Regions from separate parts of the Homo sapiens genome. Here region 1 is linked to region 2. Evidence: promoter capture Hi-C in human tissues and cell types (Jung and others, 2019). All regions are on one chromosome and are shown on one strand. The core of a region is centred on a gene start or on the middle of the fragment in contact, and the rest is flanking DNA. Distances in the headings are between cores, read along the strand shown. Region 1 overlaps ZNF518A (zinc finger protein 518A). Region 2 holds the start of ALDH18A1 (aldehyde dehydrogenase 18 family member A1).

Evidence for each region. Contacts are between HindIII fragments. The study calls those that stand out against the background at their distance.
Region 1: a contact is called between a fragment that was not itself captured here and the fragment with the promoter of ALDH18A1 in region 2, in 1 of the 25 tissues and cell types used here (spleen).

Annotation. Positions count from the first base shown.
Region 1 is chr10:96,136,067-96,141,991 of GRCh38, forward strand. The region is part of intron 3 of ZNF518A (zinc finger protein 518A); the gene reads left to right. It overlaps LOC124902486 (a long non-coding RNA gene), which reads right to left. Exons shown (of 2, transcript XR_007062254.1): 1 at 349-5,925; 2 at 1-288. Among named protein-coding and RNA genes, the nearest start is that of ZNF518A, 8.7 kb to the left of the region's middle. The HindIII fragment of the contact is 4,633 bases long and covers 1,102-5,734 here.
Region 2 is chr10:95,654,346-95,661,088 of GRCh38, forward strand. ALDH18A1 (aldehyde dehydrogenase 18 family member A1) reads right to left here and starts at 2,366. Exons shown (of 18, transcript NM_002860.4): 1 at 2,252-2,366. RefSeq lists a silencer at 2,103-2,212. The HindIII fragment of the contact is 17,710 bases long and covers 1-6,743 here.

The DNA of each region.
Region 1 (5,925 bases), core at 2,168-4,667, 480 kb after region 2:
GGTAGTGGAAAATAAGGTGACTGTTTTAGGTAAATCTATGTATGAGGCATTTGGAAAGCCAAGCAGAAATTTTGGCCCTTTCTACTAAGATGGAGATTTCTTTGAAAAAATGTGTATATTTCTTTTCATATAATTTCATTTTTGTATGCTAAAATGTGAATTAAATGTGATGAAATACTGTAAAATTACTCATTTTGGCAAAAACCTTTGTTTTATTCATCTGTCTTGAAGATTTTTTAAAAATAGCAATTAACTTGGAATGCCGATTTATAAATATGTATATATAACCTTTCTCAAAAAGGGAAAGGTAAGAAGAAATGTTATATATATTTATTTATTTCTTCTTACCTTTCCCTTTTTGAGAGATCTCTTAGTAATAGTCAAAGCCATACCCTATTCCTTAGTGAGAAAGCCAGTTTGAAACGAATGTAGCAATAGATGTAAAAACATTTAAAGGCGTTTTAATGTGGCTTTTTAATGAGCTGGCTTATGCCTGTAGTCCCAGCACATTGAGCAGCTGAGCTGGGAGGATCGCTTGAGCCCAGGAGTTCAAGACTAGCCAGGGCAACATAGTGAGACCCCATCTCTATTTAAAAAAAAATGTTTTTAAAGATAAGGAACAGACTTAAAGTGATGATTGATTGCTCATAGAACGTTCATTTTGGGCTCCAGAACTAGGAATGATGTAGAATTTATTGTTGTGTCATTGTCTCATTAAATGCTGTAGTTTCCTATGTCCTTGCCTACCTTCTTTCCTCAGAGCCTCGCATCTGACCCTCAGAGAGTAGCAGTTGGATTATTCCATTATACCAAGGTTGGCAAGCTTTTGCTGTAAATGGCCAGATAGTAAATATTTTAGGCTTTGTGGGCCATATGGTTTCTGGTGCAACTATTGTAACACAAAAGAAGCCATAGGCAATATGTAAATGAGTGAGTGTGGCTGTATTCCAGTGAAACTTAATTTACAAAAACAGGCAGCAGGCCAGATTTGGCCTGCAGGCCGTCATTTCATTCCACAAACTCTCTCAGTCACATCTGCGCACCTGCTAGCATCTTTATTTATCCTCCCCTCTAGTTACTATAGATGGATCATGTTTGCTCCTTTCTAAGTTCACCTCTTCAGCTCGTTCACTAGATTCCGTCCGTTCTAACCTGAAGGACTTCACTGCTGCATTTCTTTCCTATCCTTTATCATCAATTTTTTTATTTTTACTAGATCATTTTAATAAGCGTGCAGTCATACTGTAATTCCTCCCACCTTTAAAAAACAAAAAATAAATTGAAACAAAACAAAACAACTCCTTTATCTTAAAACTCCTTGAAAGAGTTGTCTGCACTGCATCACTACTTCCTCTCTTCCCATTTTGCCTTACATCCAAGCTTGTCAGCCTTTCTCCTCTAAAACTCCACTGAAACTGTTCTAATCCATGGTACCAGTGATCTTCACATTAAGTCTAGTTAGTCATCTTCTTACTTGACAGAGTTGTTCAATCCCTTATCCAGTAAACATTTTCTTCATTTTGCTTTGAGGATACCACATTCTTGATTTACCTTAACTCTTATTGGTCATTTCTTTTCTGTCTCACTTGCTGGTTCTTTTTAATCTCTTTCTGTTGGATGTGTTATAGAATCTTGAGGCTCAGGCCTTGGACTGCTCTTTTTGTTTATTCCCCCTGGTGATTTCATCCTGCTCCAAGTACTTGAAAGTACATATGTACATATACACACACCGATAACTCCCCAAATTTCATCATCCACCTAGCCCTCTGTATTCTATATCCAGCCACACAGTCCACATTTCCTCTTGGATGTCAAATAGACATCTCAGATATTACATGCCTAAAATGGAACTTTTGATAAACTTTCCTATTACTTTAACAATCTTTTATATCTCGGTGAATAGCAACTCAGTTCTTTCCAATGCTGTCAGAACTTCTAGAGTTATCCTTGACATGTCTCTTTCTTTCAGAGAAAGCATATCAGGATATCTTGTAGGTGCTAGCTTCAAAATATATTCAATCTGACCATGCCTCATTGTCTCAGCCAAACCACCATCAACTCTTACTTGGATAATTGTACTGTGTAGTCTTTGTCTTTACTCTTAATCCCTCCTGAATACTCTGTTCTTAGCATAGCAGCCCAAGTGATAGAAGTAATTCGACTCATGGTAATTCTCTGCCCACAATGCTCCAGTAGCTTCCTCTCTGATTCAGAATAAAACCAAAGCCTTTACAGTTTCTATCAGGGCCTGTTTCTGTCCCCTTGTTACTTCTCTGACCTCATCTTCTAGCTTTCCCTCTAATGCTTTCTGTTGTGGTCATACTGATTTTCTTGCTGTTCCCCAAATGTGTTAGGCACATTGCACACTCAGGGTCATGTCACTAACTTTTGTTTTCTTGGATTGTTGGCTTCCTCAGCTCTTTAAGATACTGACTCCAATAAGACCTTTTCAAGTCGAGGGCTCCCTGACTTAATATGTAAAATTACAACACTCTGATTCTGCCTTTCTGTCTTTGCTTTATTTTTCTCTGTAGCAATTGTTGCCTTTGAATATACTTTATAATTTACTTACTTTGTTTATTACCTAAATAATCAGTAAAATGTTACCTCCGTGAGGGGAGGGATTTTTGTCTGTTTGGTTTACTGCCATATTCCCAATGCTTAGAACGTAGATGTGGTGCTAGCTACAAGTCTGGCAGCATCCCACATGCTGGTGATGTAGTAAAGGACATTACAGATGTAGTTCTCACCCTTACGCAACTTATATTCCGGTGGTAGAGACAGATAGAAAATAAATGGGCAAATAAATAAAATATTGCCAGAGATATTAAGTGTTACAAAAAAAGAAATAGAAAAGGATAAAGTGGCGAATTTTTTTTTTTTTTTTTTTTTTGAGGAAGGGATGGTTTATAGGGAAGGGCCCTTCTGAGGTGGTGGCATTTGAGCTGAGACCTAAAAGATGAGAAGGATGTAGCCTTTTGAAGAATGGAAGAAAGCACATTTCAAGTAGGGAACAGCAGGTGCAAAGGCCTGAGATAGGATGGATAGGAAGAATATTTGAGGAGCTGAGAATCTGTGGCAGCTTGTTGGAGTATATGTACAATGGGGAGAGTGGTGTGAGATGAAGTTGAAGAAAAAGACCCAAGACCAGATACCGCTGTTTCTTGCAGGCCTTTGTAAAGAGATTAAATTTTATTTTAAGTGCCTTGTTGCTATAGGCTGAATGTTTATGTCCCCCTTCCCCATACTCAAATTGATACATTGAAACCTATTCTCCAGTGTGATGGCATTTGGAAGTGGGGCCTTTTTAAGAGGTGATTAGGTCATAAGGGCAGAGTCCTTATGAATGGAATTAGTACCCTTATAAAAGAGACCCCAGAGGGCTCTATTTTGTCATGTGAGGACACAGTGAGAAGATGGCCACCTGTGAACCAGGAAGTAGGCCCTCCCCAGACACCAAATCGCCAGTGCCTTGATCTTAGACTTCCTAGGCTTCAGAATTGTGAGAAATAAGTCTATGGTACTCTGTTACAGCAGCCAGAACAGAGTAGGACACTTGGGAAACCACCAAGGAGCTTTAAGCAGGGGAGCTTTGTGATATGTTTTATTTTAAGAAGAACATTTGCTCCTGTGTGGAGGATGGACTCAGAGGAGGGTGGTGGACAAGGTGGAAGCATGGATGCCAGTTAGGAGGATGTTTTCATTCATGTTAGAAATGATGGTGGCCTGGACTAAGATGATGACAGTGGATAGGAAGAGAGGAAGGGAAATACAAGATCTGTTGGTTTTGTTTTTGTTTTTATTTTTTCGAGACGGAGTTTTGCTTTTGTTGCCCAGGCTGGAGTGCAATGGTGTGATCTCGGCTGACTGCAACCTCCACCTCCCGGGTTCAAGTGATTCTCCTGCCTCAGCCTCCTGAGTAGCCGGGATTACAGGCATGCACCACCATATCTGGCTAATTTTGTGTTTTTAGTAGTGGCGGGGTTTCTCTATGTTGGTCAGGCTGGTCTCAAACTCCCGACCTCAGGTGATCCACCTGCCTCAGCCTCGCAGAGTGCTAGGATTACAGGTGTGAGCCACCTCGCCCGGCCCAAGATCTGGTTTTGAGATGGAATTGACCAGGCTTGCTTATGGATTAATGTGGGGAGTAAGGGATGGAGGAATCAAGGATGAGTCTTGATTTCTGGGTTGTGGAACTGTATGAATTTTAGTGCCATATAGTAAGATGGGGACATCCAGGGAGTGTAACTTCTAATCATGGAGGCAGGTGCTGTGTAGACCTAGAGAAAAATTAAACCATTTATATTATTTTCTGAAGCTGAGTAAGAATGGATCACATGATAACATGTTCTCCCAGCAAATAGCAGTACATCTTTTGATTTTCTTCCCTCCCCTCATGTATTCCAAATCAAAATCTGCCTATTCTAAATCACTGTCGCAGCAAAATGACAAACAGAAAAAGAAAAGAGCAAAAGATGAAAATAATTCCTTTTCTATACTGAATTCAATGGCTCTTATGTCACTTTGGACAAATTAGTTCAGATTTTTCTCCCAATTCCTACCTATTAAAAAGGTGATTTCTGCCAGGGTGTGGTGGCTTATGTCTGTAGTCTCAGCACTTTGGGAGGCTGAGGTAGGCAAATTGCTTGAGACCAGGAGGTCAAGACCAACCTGGGCAACATGGTGAAACCCCATCTCTTAAAAAAAAAAAAAGAATTGGAAAAATTAGCTGGGCATGGTGGTGCATACCTATAGTCCCAGCTACTTGGGAAATTGAGGTGGGAGAATCAATTGAGCCCAGAAGGGCGAGGCTGTAATGAGCCGTAATTGTGCCATTGCAGCACTTCAGCCTGGGAGACAGAGTAAGACCCTGTCTCAAAAAAAAAGATGGGGGGTTGTGGGAGTGATTTCTGACTCTGTGTTTTAAACCAAGTTCCAAATTATTGCAGCAAAAAAGTTTACATGCTCTTTGAAGTTTGCTAGAAAGTGATTTAATCTAAAATCATAGTCATATATTTGATTTGAAAATGAGAGAATGAATAGCTTAAAAATATATGGGTTAGGCACTTGTGTACCCAGCCTTCTGGTTTTTGTGAGGGAAAAATGAGAAATAGTAAGTAAAACTTGCATTTAGGAAGCTTATAAATTATCTGGGGAGGTAAAAAATAATGAAATTATGTAATAGTATAAAGCAATTTGTAATAAATGGTGAGCACTGGCTATTCTTTAAGTGGATACTCAGAGAAAGGAGAGATTTAGTGTGTATTGTAAAAGGTTACATGTCCCTATAAGAAGCAGAATTTGAAAGGAAGTTTGAATAGTGTTGAATTTAGATAGAAGGAAGGAGATGCCATGCCTGGTGACCGAAAACTATATGAACAGAACAAAGGTAAATAAAGGTGTATGTGTGGGTAAGCATCTTTTATATTGGGCACAGTGAGAAGTCATAGTTTCAGGGAGTAATAAAGAATAAGGTTTACCTGAACCAAGAACTGCTTCTGTATTTTAATTTTTAATTTTAAACTCCTTTATAATTGTATACCAATATCAATTGCATACCAGAATGGTATGTGACTCACAGATACACTAGAATTTTGAACATTTCTAGATCTGTATTTAATTACTTTTGCATATTTAATTACTTTTGCATATTTAACCCTACATTTCTTTTTTTCTTCTTCATTTTTTTTTTTTTTTTTGAGACAGGGTCTAGCTCTGTTGGTCTGGAGTGCAGTGGTGCTTGGCTTGCTGCAACCTCTGCCACCCAGGTTTAAGGGATCCTCCCACCTCAGCCTCCTGAGTGCCTGAGAATACAGGCACATGCCACCACACTTGCCTAATTTTTAAAATACTTTTGTAGAGATGAGGTCTCACTATATTACTCAGGCTGGTCTTGAACTCCTGGACTCAAGCAGTTCTCCTGCC
Region 2 (6,743 bases), core at 1,116-3,615:
GCAGAGACGGGGTTTCACCATGTTGGCCAGGATGGTCTCGATCTCCTGACCTTGTGATCCACCCACCTCGGCCTCCCAATATTGTAGCTCTTTTTATGCTACAGAGACACTGCTATTTTCACAAGGTAAGAAAAATACTTCACTTTCTTTGTTTGTGGGCCTCCTTTTAACTTTTGTTCCATGGATTGGTGGATATATCCCAGCCCTCTTAAATGTGCCTCAGAAGACTAGCATTTAGCCCCATAGTGAAGAAAAATTAGGAATGGTGTCATTGCTTTACAATTTATACTGCACAAAGGCACTGAAATGGGACAGAGAAGAGACTGGCAGGATGCAGCTGTTCTAAAACATATGGCATCTAGTAGGCAACAGAAAGTATTAATTGATCTTTGTTATTTCAATTTTTTCATAACACTGAAGTATGATTTTAGCACGTGATCTAAGTTTGCTGCTTATATAAATTCCTTCAATAATGGCTGCTAAACAATTATTTACATGTGAATTCTCCAAAATAACTACAGAAGAGCCAAAGGGTAAAACAATCAAATTCCAGTTCCACCTCCCTAAGAAACCTTCCCCAGCAAGGCTAGTCTTCACAGCTGGATATAATTCTATAGGTTAGCTTTTAAATAGCTCATGACTACTGCTTTTCCCATCTGGATTACAAACTTTCCATTGACAATATGGCAAAAACGATGAGGAACAAGGCCTTTGAAGTTGGTCAGATTTGGGTTCGAGCTCTGCACTTGCTGTGTGTCTTGTGGAGAGTTACCCAATTTTTCTTTATTATTATTATTATTATTATTATTATACTTTAAGTTTTAGGGTACATGTGCACAATGTGCAGGTTAGTTACATATGTAAGAGTTACCCAATTTTTCTAAGCCTCTGTTTCCTCACTTATAAATCAGGGATACTAACACTATGGACCTCATGAAATTATAGTGAGAATTAAAAGAGAGAATGCGTGGAAAGTGCTTGGGTACAACAAATGGTCAGTAAATGTCAGTTTTCCTCCTTTTGTCTTTTAGGCACTAATGATGCCTTACAATTATTTTTTCCTTAATTTCCTTCAAGACCCATCACGGGAACAAAGAATTCAACGAATATTCACTATTAGATACAATCACACACATATATTGACTGACTGTTTACCTCTCTATTAACCAAGAGTCATTGAAAGCTCTGAACACCTACGGTCACTGAAATAAGAGATTGAAGACTGACGTAGAAACCAAGCCTCCTGACCTCTCCCCTGTACCACCATCTCTGACTGACCAGGCAGAGTGTATTACGCCCTCGAGAAGCACACAGTTGATCCCAAGGAGCAAAGAGAGTGTGTGTGTGTGTGTGTGTGTGTGTGTATCTAGACTCGTGTCTAGATTTGTGTGACTGTGTCTCGACTCTGTGTGTGTGTTTAGACTCCATATCATCAGTTGAAGAAAGTTTTCACGTTTTGACTCAAGACATTTCTCAATATCTCTTTACAGACTAAACAGAATGCCCTTATCTAACTGATTTGAACAGAGAAGTGAACCTCAGTCCCAGCACAGTTCACCCACAAACACATGCTCGGTATATGGCTCACCACTTAAATACAAAGATCCGATGGGCCTCACCACCTCAGAGGGCAGGGGATAATGATGGGGGAAGGACGAGGTGGGGTATGTGGGTGCGTCCTGCTGTAACAGGAAGACCCCAGCATACACAGAATGCCATACTGCAAAGGGAGTCTGGCTTTGAGGAGGGGATGATGAACGCCTGGAGGGCCGCGGGGAACTAGGGACCCAGGCCCCTGAGAGTCAGCGTGCGGCCAGCTAAAACCCGCGGCATCCCGGCGCTGCCACCACCGCCACCCACGCCACCCACCAGTGCAGGCTCCATACTCTTGGAAAGAAGGGGCCCGCGGATGCCTGAAGTCTCCACTTGGCCCAGTTCCTTACATGGTGTACCCAGGGGAGGCCGGGGAGGTCAGGGCCCGTAGCCATCCGTAGATCCCGGGGCGGCCGCGCACCGGCATATGGGAGCGCGCCACGGTCTTGCAGCGCGCCCTGGGCGGCCCGATGCAGCCGCCATCCCTCGGCCGAGGCCCACACCTACCCATGGGCCAGATCCCCGGGCCCCGGCACCTGCTCCGGCAGCGTCCCCGCTCCAGCGGCCCGGCGCTCACGCCCCTCGCGCTTGAGCCTGGGCGCGCAACAGCTTCCGCAGAGACGCGGGCGCCTAGCCATCCCCGCCGCTCGCCGCGTACCTTCCTCACCACCGCCGCCTTCGCCCCCTGGCACTACCGCGGGTCCGCACTCCACGCCGGGCTGATTCCGGCGCTCGCTCACTCTCTTTTTTCTTCCGTCCACGTCCCGCACGATGACGTTACGTCAGTGGCGTAAGAGTAAACCTGGGCAGCCGGCCCTACGCTGTTGACGTGGGGCGAGGGCCTGTCCTGGAGCTGCGGCGCGGCAATGGCGTAGGCCCCTTTCGAGAATCAAGCCAGCGCTCCACGTGGCGGGCCAGCCCACCAGGCCCCGGCAGCCTGGAAGAGGCGGGACTCGAGTTCAGGGGGAACGCCCACGTCCCGGGAGGGGACAGGGGCCGGAGACAGGGGCGAAGACACCTTCGAAACGCCGCCCCACTGGGCCTTCCAGGGAGGTAGAAGAGGTGCCTGGCACCCTCAGCTGCTGGTAGATTTCATAAGGTGTGTTTGTCAATGTTAACCATTTATATCCCGGGCACACCTCGGAAATAGGTTGGATCAACTTACATATGTTTGTTACTTCAGGCACATCCTGGGAATAGATTGGATCAGTTTACACACATTTGCAAACTTTGGCTCCTTAAATGGAAGCATTTTGGCACTGCAATCAAATTACTTGCCCCCTAGTCATCTGGAGGTTTCCCCAATGGTCCCATCTCAACTCCCTTTCATCAAAGGCAGTTGTAAGAATATTGCATTTTAAAATAGGATATTCAATCTATGACAACTAGAACTATTCCAAAGGTGAATGCAGACTCACCTTTAAAGAGAGACCACAAAAACCTGGCACTGTGGTGTGTGCCTGTAGTCCCAGCTACTCGTAGGTGGAGGCAGGAGAACCACCTGAGCCCAGGAGTTCAAATCCAGCCTGGACAACACAGCAAGACCCCACCTCTTAAAAAGAAAAAGAAAAAAAGTGAAAACACAGATTTTTCTCCCTCTTTCCTTGCTGTATTTTGCTCAAAGGACACATTCCTGCATAGGCACATAGTGCTGGGTGGTGGGAGGGCAGCACTTGATAGGAGGTTGGGCACAGAAAGGCATCATGCCCTTCTGTCGTCCCTGATAACACTACTAAGCCTATTTATTCATTTTCTTGTTTATTAAACACTGGCTACTGCTATGGTCTGAATATGTCCCCCAAAATTCATATGTTGGAAACTTAATTCCCAATGCAAGAATATTGGGAGGTGGGGCCTAATGGGAGGCATTTGGGTCAAGAGTGCTCCACCTTTATGAATAGAGTGACCCTCATGAATAGATTAATGCTGCTATCAAAAGGTTTGTGGAGGTGGGTGTTCTCTTCTGCTCTTCTGCCCTTCCACCACGTGAGGATACAGCAAGAAAGCCCTCACCAGATGCTGGCACCTTGATCTTGGACTTCCTAGCCTCTAGAACTGTGAGAAATAAATTTCTATTATTTAAAAATTATCCAGTCTGTGTTATTGTGTTTTAGCAGCACAAAATGGACTGAGACAGCCAAGCATTCCCTGGGTGTGGAAGAAGACATAGCTGAGTTCACAGCCTTATGGAAGAGAGAGATATATGAGCAAATAATTACAATACCATGTGATGAATACTAAAGAATGGGATGGCCAGACATTCAGGGATGGCTGAAATGGTTTGACTTTGTGTCCCCACCCAAATCTCACCTTGAATTGTAATTCCCATAATCCCCACCTATGGAGGGTGGGACCTGATGGGAGGTGATTGGATCATGGGACTGTTTCCCCCATGCTGTTCTTGTGATAGTGAGTTCTTATGAGATCTGGTGGTTTTATAAGGGACTCTTCCCCCTTCACTGGTTTGCTTTCTCCTGCCTGCCACCATGTAAGACTTGCCTCTTCCCCTTCCACCATGATTGTAAGTTTCCTGAAACCTCCCCAGCCATGTGAAACTGTGAATCATCTAAATCTCTTTTCTTTATAAATTACCCAGTCTTGGGTATGTCTTTGTAACAGTGTGAAAACAGACTAATACAATGGCTTTAAAAAGAGTTGATATTCAAATTGTGCTTTGAAGCACTAGAAGTAAGGAGTTTACCTAAAAGAGGAGAGGAGTACAGGATCATATGAGGAAGAGGGAATAAGGGAATGATATATGCAGAGGTGTGAGACACCCCGTGAAAAGAGGCTACTTGCAGTAGGACATGACAGGAGAGGGGTCTGGCTGGTATCCTAAACTTACAAAGGGTTTTTTGTGGTATGCTAAAGATTTTGAATTTTATAATCCTTAAAAACAGAGAAACATGACTTTTTAAGTGCTGGAATGGTATGATCCGATTTTTGTGCCAGAAATCAGTAAAGACGCCTAGAGCTGGAATGTTGGTTAGCCTATTGCAAAGGCCCAGGTAAGAAATGGTGGCCCAAAAAAGGCTCCAGCAGAGGAATGGGGAACAAAAAGGAGGGAGAGCTGACAGCACTTATTCAAAGTGGGAGAGTGAGAGAAGAAGAGCAGTGCTTGGGAATCTGATGGTGCTGCAATACCATGAATCAGGAAATCTATGAGGTGAGTTCTCATGAGATCTGATGGTTTTCTAAGGAACTCTTCCCCCTTCACTTGTTTGCTCTCTCATGCCTGCCACCATGTAAGACATGCCTCTTCCCCTTCCACCATGATTGTAAGTTTCCTGAGACCTCCCCAGCCATGTGGAACTGTGAACGGGGAACAACAGTTCTTTTGGGTGGGGAATGAGAATACGAAATGTGTTAAATGTGGAGCATTTTGAATTTGCAGTAGGGTAGAAAAAAACAAAAGAAATTAAATTTCCCTCAAGTAAGTTATATCTGGTACCTCATCTTTTAAGATTCTCATCATGTACTTAGAATGAATTAGATGACTGTGGGTATAGCTAGAGCCAAGGGATAGGGGCCTTCACTTTAGAAGGCCTGTTCTGGTTCTTCTCTTAACTCACAGATTACCTTATGGTAATAGCTTATCTGCCTTCCCTGCTAAAAGATAAGCTCCTGAGAACAGGGAAGTATATTCATGGAACATAAGAAATATTCAATAGATATTTGATAAATAAAATGAACTACTTTTGGTTTAGTTTTCTCAAATTAAGAAATTGGGCTAATGACACCATCCTTGTCTATCCCATAGGGTTGTGAAGAGTATAAAAAATGAAAATCCTTTAACATTGTACAGACATTTTCTATTTTATTTATCACTCATTTTTATTACTATTTTATTACTAATATTCTATTCCATCAATAAGGAGAAAGTAGTGGGATATGTAACTATGGATTAGGAAAAATTAAATTCCAGACATATGAGCTAGTTTTTCCCTCCATAGAAGTCAAGGAAGTAATTCAGCTATGATATTTTTCCTGTGTATGATAAAAAGACTGATTCTTTTTTTGACTGGAGGGGTTTAACTTCTGTCTCAGCAATTAGAAATAAGGCTGGACATGACCAGACAGTCACATAGGAAGTGGGACATTTAGTATTGGTCTATAAGAATGCAGGATTTAGAAGTGCTTCTTTAGATGCCATCTAAATTGTTTTAGGCTTAAATTACCTTAATCTCAAGTTATTTAATTGTAAAAACAGAAACTCATTCAAACAAGACAATTTACTAGAAGCAGTAACTTATAGTCTCCAAAGGCAGGAGGTAAAATTGGGTCTCACAAGGGGCAGGGACAAGAAAACCGGAAAGTAAGTAATCAAGATGGTTCTCCATCTCTAAGTCTCTTGCTGACACTTTTCTTTGCCCATCTGTTTCCTTCTCTCCACTTTTCCTTTAAGATAGAGTCTCCATTAGTGAACATTTGGTGGAAAATGGCTTCCCTAGCTCTAAAAAATCTTTCCAGTTAGTGCCCACTCATGACTCATTTCAAGTCTTGGTCTAAATTCCAAGTTCCTGGGAGAGAAAATTGTACTGGCCTAGACTGGTTCAGGACTCCATTCTTGGTCCAGTCATGCATGTAATGGAAAGATGGAGGCTGTCCCCTCCCCTCCTTAAGCAAAGTTCTGAGCAGTTGGAATTCTCAGAGAAATAGTGGACATATTCAGGAGTTGGCAATGATGGGACCCTTAAATGAAACCAGTTTCAGCCACACTATGCAACATCACATACTTTCACAAACCAAGCTGCACATCAGAAGCACCTAGAAAACTTTACAAAATACAGATCTTGGAGTCCCCACTTCCTAGACCTGCCTCTTCCACCAGTGATCAGAATCTCTAGGGGTAGGGCCCAGGAATCAGTATTTTTATAAAGCACCCTAAAAGATTACTTTGTGACTAACCTTTGGGAACCACTGCTTTAAAAGACCCAGAATACTGAACAAACAAATACAATGATAAAAAAGGGAAGTTACTCATAGAGTATTACATACAATACACAAGAAGTTGAGTTTTTTATTTGTTTGTTTGTTTGTTTTTGAAACAGGGTCTCACTCTGTTACCCAGGCTGGAGTGCAGTGGCATGATCATGGTTCACTGCAGCCTCAACCTCCTGGGCTCAAGCGATCTTCCTACTTCCATCTCA